Linked DNA regions of Homo sapiens: region 1 is linked to region 2. Evidence: promoter capture Hi-C in 16 types of primary human blood cells and fetal thymus (Javierre and others, 2016). All regions are on one chromosome and are shown on one strand. Each heading gives the region's core, a stretch centred on a gene start or on the middle of the fragment in contact. The rest is flanking DNA. Distances are from core to core; before and after follow the strand shown. Region 1 has its middle 140 kb from the start of LINC01436. Region 2 holds the start of CLIC6 (chloride intracellular channel 6).

Region 1 (5,071 bases), core at 589-3,088, 1.2 Mb after region 2:
CCCTCTCTGGCTTCCCACCAGCACCCACACATGCTGCCCTCCTGCTCTCAGTATGTATGCAAGTGGTTGTGGAATAGAGAGGCAGTGAAATAGCTCCAGAATTTGTCATGCAGCCACCATATCCCAAGCACATTGCTAGGCACTGATCCTCATAGGTCGATAAAACAAGAGACCCTGCCCTCTAGGGATGCACTGGGCTGGACAACAGCCCACCAACATTACCCTGTAAGGGCAGTATTATGTGCCATAACACAGATAACGTAAGAGTGGGATGCGAAAATATCAAGAAGGAAAGAGTGAGCTCTAGTTGGGAAAAATCAGAAAAGGGGGTGGCATATGAAATAAGCCAGCAAAGAAGAGGTTATGTATTAGGCAGCCACAAATGGGAACTAAATTCTTGGTGCCAAGGACAGCAAGCAAGGTGAGAAACCGAGGAGGGTAGGGCATGTTCAACTAAAGCTTAACATGGCATGTGTTCATATGGGGAAATAGCACATGGTGGCACAGGAACGACGAAGCATGTGGCTGATGGCCTTGAACACTACCTGAAGAGTGGGCCTCTGTTTGAGAGTAAGGAGCATTCATGACCTTGAGCACAGGAGTAAGCTGCAAAGAGCCACACTCTAAGTAGGTTAGTGCAGGAGTGGTGTGAGGTACCCAGGCCGGCAGGGCTTTTAAGAAATTGCCTTCAATGGCCTGGTTGAGAACCACTGCTCCAGAACACAGTCACGCCTGGTGCTAGGGTCTATAGTATTGCTTCAGTGCTACCAAAATGAATATGGTGGGCTTGGTAAGTGTTAATCTGCTGCCTTAAGAACCTATCATAGGTCCATAGATAAATGCAGTTTCAAGCCAGTGCCTTATAAACAACCTTTGAAGACAACCCATTTGTGAGTTATATACTGCCTTCCAAATGATGAAGATTTGCTTCATATCTTTAAGGGGTGTTTCCACTTTTAAAGAGAACTTGCAATCTATTAGAAAAGATGGCAGAATTTTAGACAAAGGATCCAGAAGCTCCATGCATGAAAGTATTTATGTCTACCTGCTCCCATGACATAAGGACAAGAACATAACTCACCATGGAGGTCCCCACTGCTACACAGCAGCCTGTCTATAAGAGCCTTGCACACACACACACAAAGTGGTATGTCTTTAAAATCCATAAAATCTTCACAGAGTTAATTTTACTGGAAAATTGTTCTCTCTTTTTAGAACATTAGTCCCTAAGGACAGACTACAGGGAGAAAACACTGTTTTTATAAGCTTGCCTAAGAAAATTATTACACCCCAAAGTCCATCATGGTTATGAAATTCCATTGCATCCGTCTCTTGTTTATTTACTTTGAAACCAACATTCTAAATCTACTTGGGATACTCAATGCAAAATAATACTAGTTCTGTTTATTTTTATTTGGCTTTAAAGGAAAAAAGTAGGGGAAGAAGAGGGATGAGGTCTCAGTTAATGATCAAGAAAATATGGCAGAAGTTGACATCTACCTGAGATAAATCAAGATCAAATCTTTGTATCTCTTCTTTGTCAATGGATCCTTTCTTCTTTCCAAGCAATACATTTATGTCTTTCTAGATTGATAATTAATATCCCATATTAATTAGGCTCATGCCTATAATCCCAGCATTTTGGGAGGCTGAGGCAGGAAGATCACTTGAGCCCAGAAGTTGGGGATGAGCCTAAGCAACAAGGGAAAACCCTGGATCTACAAAAAATAAAAAATTAACCAGGCATGGTGGCGCACAACTGTAGTCCCACCTACTCAGGAGGCTGAGGCAGGAGGATTGCTTGAGCCCAGGAGGTCAAGGCTACAGTGAGCCAAAATCACGTCACTGCACTCCAGCCAGGGTGAGAGAACAAGACCCCCTGTCTCAAACAAACAAAAAAAAAAAAAAAAAAAAAAAAGACTCAACAGCCACTGGTCAAAGTAGCTCAACCTGAAGATCTCCCTCTGGTCAAGGATGGGGCAATTTGAACTCTCATAAAGATGAGAATTGCAATGGATTAAAACTGATCAAATAAGTTTAAACCCATGAGTTCATAAAGGTATTTTTTCAAACCTACTTGATAAACTTTTGAAAGTCAACAGCATTATCTTGAAAACTTAGTAAATACAAGGAAAACGTAAAACATTTATTTTAGATTCCTTATGAACTAAGCCAGTAAATAACCAACTAGTAGATGAAAGAAAGAATTTTCTAATAAAATCATTACAGCTAATAAATCAAAGCAGAGTGACAGAATCAGAAATCAACAGTCTGCACCCTGCAGTGAAAGAATGGATCTAGGCAATGTGCATCACATCTGCCAACATCAAAAACAAGGAGCCAACAGGCATGTGAAAGAACACAGACTCACCTACAATCCGCCAGCCCAGGAGGCTGAACCTGAGGCTGTTGAAGCTTCTGGATCCAGCTGCCAACTTCTAGGAGGTCAGAAAACCGAGGAGCATGTTAACCTGCAACATGAGTGCCCAATCAGCCAAATCCAGATTGAGAACCACTCCGTGGGTCAAACGGCCCAGGTTCTTCAATACATAAACTGTAAGAAAAATAGATGGAGGAAAACCTGTAAGCTAAGAGACAGCAGACAGACAGAAAGACATATATAAAATTATGTATTAAAATTTTACACACACACATATAGGCTTTTTTAATGGGAAAAACTACAGCATTTAGAGCTACGTGTTTTTAATTAATACAAAAAGATGCAAAGGATTTATCAATATAATAGCCAGGATAGTGATTACTTTGGGCAAAAGCAAGGAAATTTCTAGAGTAACTGACAAAATTCTAGTAAAATAAAATGGTCTAAAAATGAATTTAAAAGTAAAACAATTGTTATTTTATTATCATTATACTTTAAGTTCTAGGGTACATGTGCAGAACGTGCAGGTTTGTTACGTAGGTATACATGTGCCATGGTGGTTTGCTGCACCCATCAACCTGTCATTTACATTAGGTATTTCTCCTAATGCTATCCCTCCCCCAGCCCCCTACCCCCCGACAGGCCCTGGTGTGTGATGTTCCCTACCCTGTGTCCATGTGTTCTCGTTGTTCAACTCCCACCTATGATGAGAACATGTGGTGTTTGGTTTTCTGTACTTGTGATAGTTGGCTTAGAATTATGGTTTCCAGCTTCATTCACATCCCTGCAAAGGACATGAACTTATCCTTTTTTATGGTTGCATGGTATTCCATGGTGTATATGTGCCACATTTTCTTAATCCAGTCTATCATAGATGGACATTTAGGTTGGTTCCAAGTCTTTGTTATTGTGAATAGTGCCGCAATAAACATACGTGTGCATGTGTCTTTATAGTAGCATGATTTATAATCCTTTGGGTATATACCCACTAATGGGATCGCTGGGTCATGTAGTATTTCTAGTTCTAGATCCCTGAGGAATCACTGCACTGTCTTCCACAATGGTTGAACTAATTTACACTCCCACCAACAGTGTAAAAGCATTCCTATTTTTCCACATCCTCTCCAGCATGTTGTTTCCTGACTTTTAATGATTGCCATTCTAACTGGCGTGAGATGGTATCTCATTGTGGTTTTGATTTGCATTTCTCTGATGGCCAGTGATGATGAACATTTTTTCATGTCTGTTGGCTGCATAAATGTCTTCTTTTGAGAAGTGTCTGTTCATATCCTTTGCCCACTTTTTGATGGGGTTTTTTTCAAAAATGATAAAAATGAAAAAAATGTTATTTTTAAAAGATTTTCAAAAAAAGTGAATCCATTACGATTAGGGATACCACATGGTGAAACCCTTATGATAGACATCTACAAAAAGAAATGTCTAGAAGTCTTGAAACTTTCATACCAAACCACCAACTCTGAATGGTGGGTGGCACTGAGGGGCCAGGAGTAAGAGGGGGAGGGAACCAGGAGACTCAGTACAGGAGCAGGTTTATGTTTTGCTCAATATATTTTTGTTCTGTTTGCATTTATACTAGCAACTTTTCATGTATTATTCATATAGATTAAATGACTCAATCAATCTAGGAGTGAGTGAGCTATCAATTGCCCAAGCAAGTGAGTGAGTGGGCAAATGAATGGAGAAAGAAAAAAGTATCCCAGTATCATAGGCAGGTCCTAATAGTAAAGTCTTCATAAAATCATGTACAGTAAACTACAAAGCAAAAAAACAGATCATGCAAAATCTGATCAACCCAGACATTTTAGAGCCTGTGTATGTGAAGACACTTAAGTCCCTAGTCACAGATACAATGAGCTTATATGCTAAAATTTTATAAATGAAAATTTTACAAGGTAACTTGTTGATCGACCAGTCAAATATGAGTTCAGAACCAGATACCATCTTAAATGATCCCTGTGCCCACCCTAATACCATCCTGCCTGCCCTCCAGGGACCCTCCAATCATGAGACCCTAACTAAGAAGTCTTGCTGCCCAAGCTGGGCACGGGGACTCCCGCCTGTAATCTCAGTACTTTGGGAGGCCTTCAAGGGAGGATTCCTTGAAGCCAAAAGTTAACACCAGCCCTGGCAACACTGGGAGACCCTGTTTCTGTAAAAAAATTTAAAAATTAGCCAGGTGTGGTGGTACACACCTGTGGTGCCAGCTACTCAGGAGGCTGAGGTGGGAGGATCGACTGAGCCCAGGAGATTGAACCTGCAGTAAGCCATGATCACACCACTGCACTCTAGCCTGAGTGACAGAGCAAGACCCTGTCTAAAAAAAGAAAAAAGAAAAAAAGAAAAAAGAAGTCTTACTGCCCCTTTAAATTTCATGACCCCCAGAGTATTTGAAAGCACATTTCTGAATCCACCCAGAATTACTTCTTTACAAACATTCCAAAAAAAAAAAGGCGGGTCGTGGTAGCTCATGCCTATAATACCAGCACTTTGGGAGGCCGAGGCGGGCAGATCACCTGAGGTCAGGGTCAGGAGTTCGAGACTAGCCTGGCCAACATGATGAAACCCTGTCTATACTAAAAATACAAAAATTAGCTGGGCATGGTGGCAGTCGCCTGTAATCCCAGCTACTCGGGAGGCTGAGGCAGGAGAATCGCTTGAACCCGGGAGGCG
Region 2 (4,723 bases), core at 974-3,473:
TTTCTGCAAGGACATTATTCAGGCCAGTTCTCAGCCACTCAGCCAACAGCTTTGTTTCCGACTGTGCCAAGTCTGCAAACAGTAGCTGATCATCTTTAGCTCAATTCAAAAGGAGGTTTTTCTAGATATTCCAACCACACCCCCCCCCAATAGCCAGCACATTTCTATCAAGTTTGATTGAGTTAGAGTTTATGAAATATTTCCTGAATGACTGAATACACACGTGCCTTCAAATACATATGCACCAACCTGAACTAGTTTTGGAAAATACTTTCCTCAGTTAGTTTTATACTTTGGGGGGTAAGCTAATGTCACAAGACACTCTATTGACAGAAATTCTTATCTACTGACTTTGCTAAAAGAATTTGCTAAATATTATTACTCGCATGAGTGTCTTTAATTTGGTTCTTTGTAAACATTGAGCATTGAAGACGGTTTGTTATTAAGGACAAAGTTATGTATCTAACTAATCTCACATTTTTCTAAGCAGCGCAAATAAACCCAGAGCCCTTCAATGGTTCACAGGTCCACAATCCTTTTATACACATTCTGAAATCCTAAAAGGCTCTGAATACTGAAAGCTGTTTTGGGAACTCATCTAGAATCAGAACCAGAAAGGCTTGAACTCAGCTGGAGGTGAACCTAAACTGGGGGTGGGGGGCCTGAAGCTTGTATGATTTTACCATATCTCACCAAATGTGATGCCTGTCTTACTGCAGAAATATTAATGTGTTTGATCACAAAGTGATGTTCTGTGTTATGTAATATACAGTAAAATCACTCAATCATCTTTCTAACAATTCTGTTTTCTGAAACACATCCGGGCTCATGGGATTTGCATAAAGCACTGTAAACCTGTACTGTGTTTGCTGTTCCGGGCTGAACGTGCTGGCTTCATCTTTCTTTACAAGATAAGGGTGATGGCTGCTACCTTGCCCCGGTGAATGCAGCAGGATTCCTTTTCTAGGTGCCTAGAGCTTTTACGGCTCACGTGCATCTCTGGCTCACCTGTGTGAGTGTCATGCTTTGACTAGATGCCACTTTGTGGTGATGAAGCTTCTGGCCTGTACCTACCCAGACAGAGCACAGCCTTGGAGAAAGGTAGCATGAAGCTGAGTGTCTCTGGGCTCCTGTCCTGTCATCCATCAGTGATGAGCAATGGGAAGTAGAAGGAGACACATTATGTTCATGGCCAAAGGTGTGACCCCAAGCCACATCAAAGGCACACCCAGCTCTTTCAACGAAAACAACCTTCTGTGGGCATGAGGGGCTCATGTATCTTAGGCCAATATCAAAGCCATATAAAGCCTGATGAATCAAGTCAGTCTTGAGCTGGGATCCCCGTTCCACCACATTTACATAGTGCCACCTTGGGTAACCCAGTTTCTTGGTAACCCACTAGAAGTAGCCTGGCTTATAATAAACTTACGACATACTTTTCACCATAATAACTTCCTTTTTAAAGTAGGTATTGGGTCTGTGATCCTGGGAGAACCCTAACCCAGGGAATTCCATAGCTCCCCTCTTTCACATCTTGGATTTTCTTTTCTCCACCTCCAGATTCCCAAGCTCTTAACTTGGAGGCAGAAGCACTGGTGGTGAGTTTAGAAATCTAGGAGAATCAGCAAGATACACAGACTCTTACAGTCTTAAGAGACCCGGGAGATGAAGGTGTAACCTTTTTCCAGCGCAGGGCTCCCACGATCCTCCAGACAGGCCCGGAGAAGCGGACCCTCATGGACAACAGCGCCCATCTCTGGTCAGAGAAACTCGACTGGCTCCTTGTGCGTCTATATGAGGGGCCTCTGGAACCTCTCCGGGGGCCCTGCAGACATGGGAAGGCGGCCAGCGTAGCCTCCCCAGCTTCTTCTCTCAGGGATTTACACCCTTGCTCTTGGACATCAGGCACAATGTGGACATCTTCAGTTGGGTACCGGGGGAGCTTGATGCTTCACTCCTGGGGTAAGGTGGGGATTAGGTGTTTGGGTGTCGGGGTGTGTGTTTGGAGGGGGTGATTTAAGTGACTCTGGAACTTGAAGCCATTCTAGAGAACAACACCCAAGCGGCCAGGAGAACCAGAATCTTTTCATCAACATCCACAAGGGTCACGAGAAAGGCTGTCATTGGCCAAGCTCCTAGGCTACCCAAACAAAGGAGGGAGGAGGGGAAGACAAACCCCGCCCAAGCCCCAGGGGATGGAGTTGGCACCAAGGACTTCTGGTCAACCCCAGGACAGCGGACAGCGGGCCGGGCACTTCCAAAGGCGCAGGAGCGAAGCAGCCCTCTCCAGCCGTGCACTGCACCTCCGCGGCCCGCGGGCGAGATTGGGGTCCCGGTGGGAAGCAGACGCGCAATCGGGGAGAAGCTCCAGCAGTGGAGGAAGAGTCCAGGGAGTTTCAGCTGGGCAGAAGGGGCGCAGAGGCTTGGGGCCAAGCGGAGTTTGCCCTGCGGGTCCTGCGCAAGGCCCCAGTGCCCCGGCTAAACCTTTGCCGCAGGATCCCGGAGCCGGCGTCCTTCAAGGAGCACAGAGGGCCCCGTAGCACGCCCCTTGCCCAGCGCCACCGACCCTTAAGCAGCGTCAAGGAAGGAGTCCCGATCAAGGACAGGGATCTGCGGCCATGGCCGAGGCCGCGGAGCCGGAGGGGGTTGCCCCGGGTCCCCAGGGGCCGCCGGAGGTCCCCGCGCCTCTGGCTGAGAGACCCGGAGAGCCAGGAGCCGCGGGCGGGGAGGCAGAAGGGCCGGAGGGGAGCGAGGGCGCAGAGGAGGCGCCGAGGGGCGCCGCCGCTGTGAAGGAGGCAGGAGGCGGCGGGCCAGACAGGGGCCCGGAGGCCGAGGCGCGGGGCACGAGGGGGGCGCACGGCGAGACTGAGGCCGAGGAGGGAGCCCCGGAGGGTGCCGAGGTGCCCCAAGGAGGGGAGGAGACAAGCGGCGCGCAGCAGGTGGAGGGGGCGAGCCCGGGACGCGGCGCGCAGGGCGAGCCCCGCGGGGAGGCTCAGAGGGAGCCCGAGGACTCTGCGGCCCCCGAGAGGCAGGAGGAGGCGGAGCAGAGGCCTGAGGTCCCGGAAGGTAGCGCGTCCGGGGAGGCGGGGGACAGCGTAGACGCGGAGGGCCCGCTGGGGGACAACATAGAAGCGGAGGGCCCGGCGGGCGACAGCGTAGAGGCGGAGGGCCGGGTGGGGGACAGCGTAGACGCGGAAGGTCCGGCGGGGGACAGCGTAGACGCGGAGGGCCCGCTGGGGGACAACATACAAGCCGAGGGCCCGGCGGGGGACAGCGTAGACGCGGAGGGCCGGGTGGGGGACAGCGTAGACGCGGAAGGTCCGGCGGGGGACAGCGTAGACGCGGAGGGCCGGGTGGGGGACAGCGTAGAGGCGGGGGACCCGGCGGGGGACGGCGTAGAAGCGGGGGTCCCGGCGGGGGACAGCGTAGAAGCCGAAGGCCCGGCGGGGGACAGCATGGACGCCGAGGGTCCGGCAGGAAGGGCGCGCCGGGTCTCGGGTGAGCCGCAGCAATCGGGGGACGGCAGCCTCTCGCCCCAGGCCGAGGCAATTGAGGTCGCAGCCGGGGAGAGTGCGGGGCGCAGCCCCGGTGAGCTCGCCTGGGACGCAGCGGAGGAGGCGGAGGTCCCGGGGGTAAAGGGGTCCGAAGAAGCGGCCCCCGGGGACGCAAGGGCAGACGCTGGCGAGGACAGGGTAGGGGATGGGCCACAGCAGGAGCCGGGGGAGGACGAAGAGAGACGAGAGCGGAGCCCGGAGGGGCCAAGGGAGGAGGAAGCAGCGGGGGGCGAAGAGGAATCCCCCGACAGCAGCCCACATGGGGAGGCCTCCAGGGGCGCCGCGGAGCCTGAGGCCCAGCTCAGCAACCACCTGGCCGAGGAGGGCCCCGCCGAGGGTAGCGGCGAGGCCGCGCGCGTGAACGGCCGCCGGGAGGACGGAGAGGCGTCCGAGCCCCGGGCCCTGGGGCAGGAGCACGACATCACCCTCTTCGTCAAGGTAAAGCTCGCTTCCCTCAATTCTTAGGACGACCCCCTTCCATTCGAGGTCTTGGTCATCTCAGATCCCAGAGGGACGCGCAGGGAGGAACCCTTGGTGGTATCCTGATTGTCATCAGGCGCTTCCATGCGCGGGCGGTAGGCGGGACAGCCGGGATTTCCCGGAGAAGAGTTTCCAGGGCATTTGCGGGAGGACTCAATGGTTTGGAAGCAAAGACTTTGGGGGTGGGGGCGACGGGGAGTGCGATGGGGGCCAATGAGGATGTGGGGTTGTGGGTTCAGCATCCCACTGTCCTTTGACCTGAACATCCTAACCAGCCCTCCTAGTCAGGAGGTTATTAACGAATTAACTAAAAAGTTAAAAAAAAAAAAAAAAAAAAAGAAGAAGAAGAAGAAAAGCAACGCACCCTATTGGTGTTCAAAGGGATTTCTGCCAAAGGAAGCTTTAATACTTGAAGCCAAAAAACGCAGACAGGTAGGTTCAATGTGGGAGGTGCCTTCCAGACTCAATCTCGGAGACCCAGAGCTGGTCAATGTTTTCAACTCCAAAAAGGTATTCCATTTTGGTAGAATCAACAATGTACGTTTAGGGGGGAATGGAGCCTTATTGACATAATGTTTTTTGAACGTTTTAACATTGAATTTGGAAGAATACAAGATGCCGGTGACTTGAACATCATCTGCTTGTATGTCATGTTTTTAACCTCAGTTCACATGGGAAGAGAGCAAGGA

Evidence for each region. Contacts are between HindIII fragments. The CHiCAGO score rates a contact against its expected background, and 5 or more counts as called.
Region 1: a fragment that was not itself captured here is called in contact with the fragment with the promoter of CLIC6 in region 2 in 1 of 17 cell types (naive B cells); the score reaches 7.0 in naive B cells.

What each region holds. Positions count from the first base shown.
Region 1 is chr21:35,861,914-35,866,984 of GRCh38, forward strand. No RefSeq gene overlaps it. Among named protein-coding and RNA genes, the nearest start is that of LINC01436, 140 kb to the right of the region's middle. The HindIII fragment of the contact is 1,149 bases long and covers 1,265-2,413 here.
Region 2 is chr21:34,666,771-34,671,493 of GRCh38, forward strand. It overlaps CLIC6 (chloride intracellular channel 6), which reads left to right and starts at 2,224. Exons shown (of 6, transcript NM_053277.3): 1 at 2,224-3,992. The coding sequence starts at 2,619. RefSeq lists silencers at 2,517-2,956, 3,857-3,936. The HindIII fragment of the contact is 3,378 bases long and covers 1,055-4,432 here.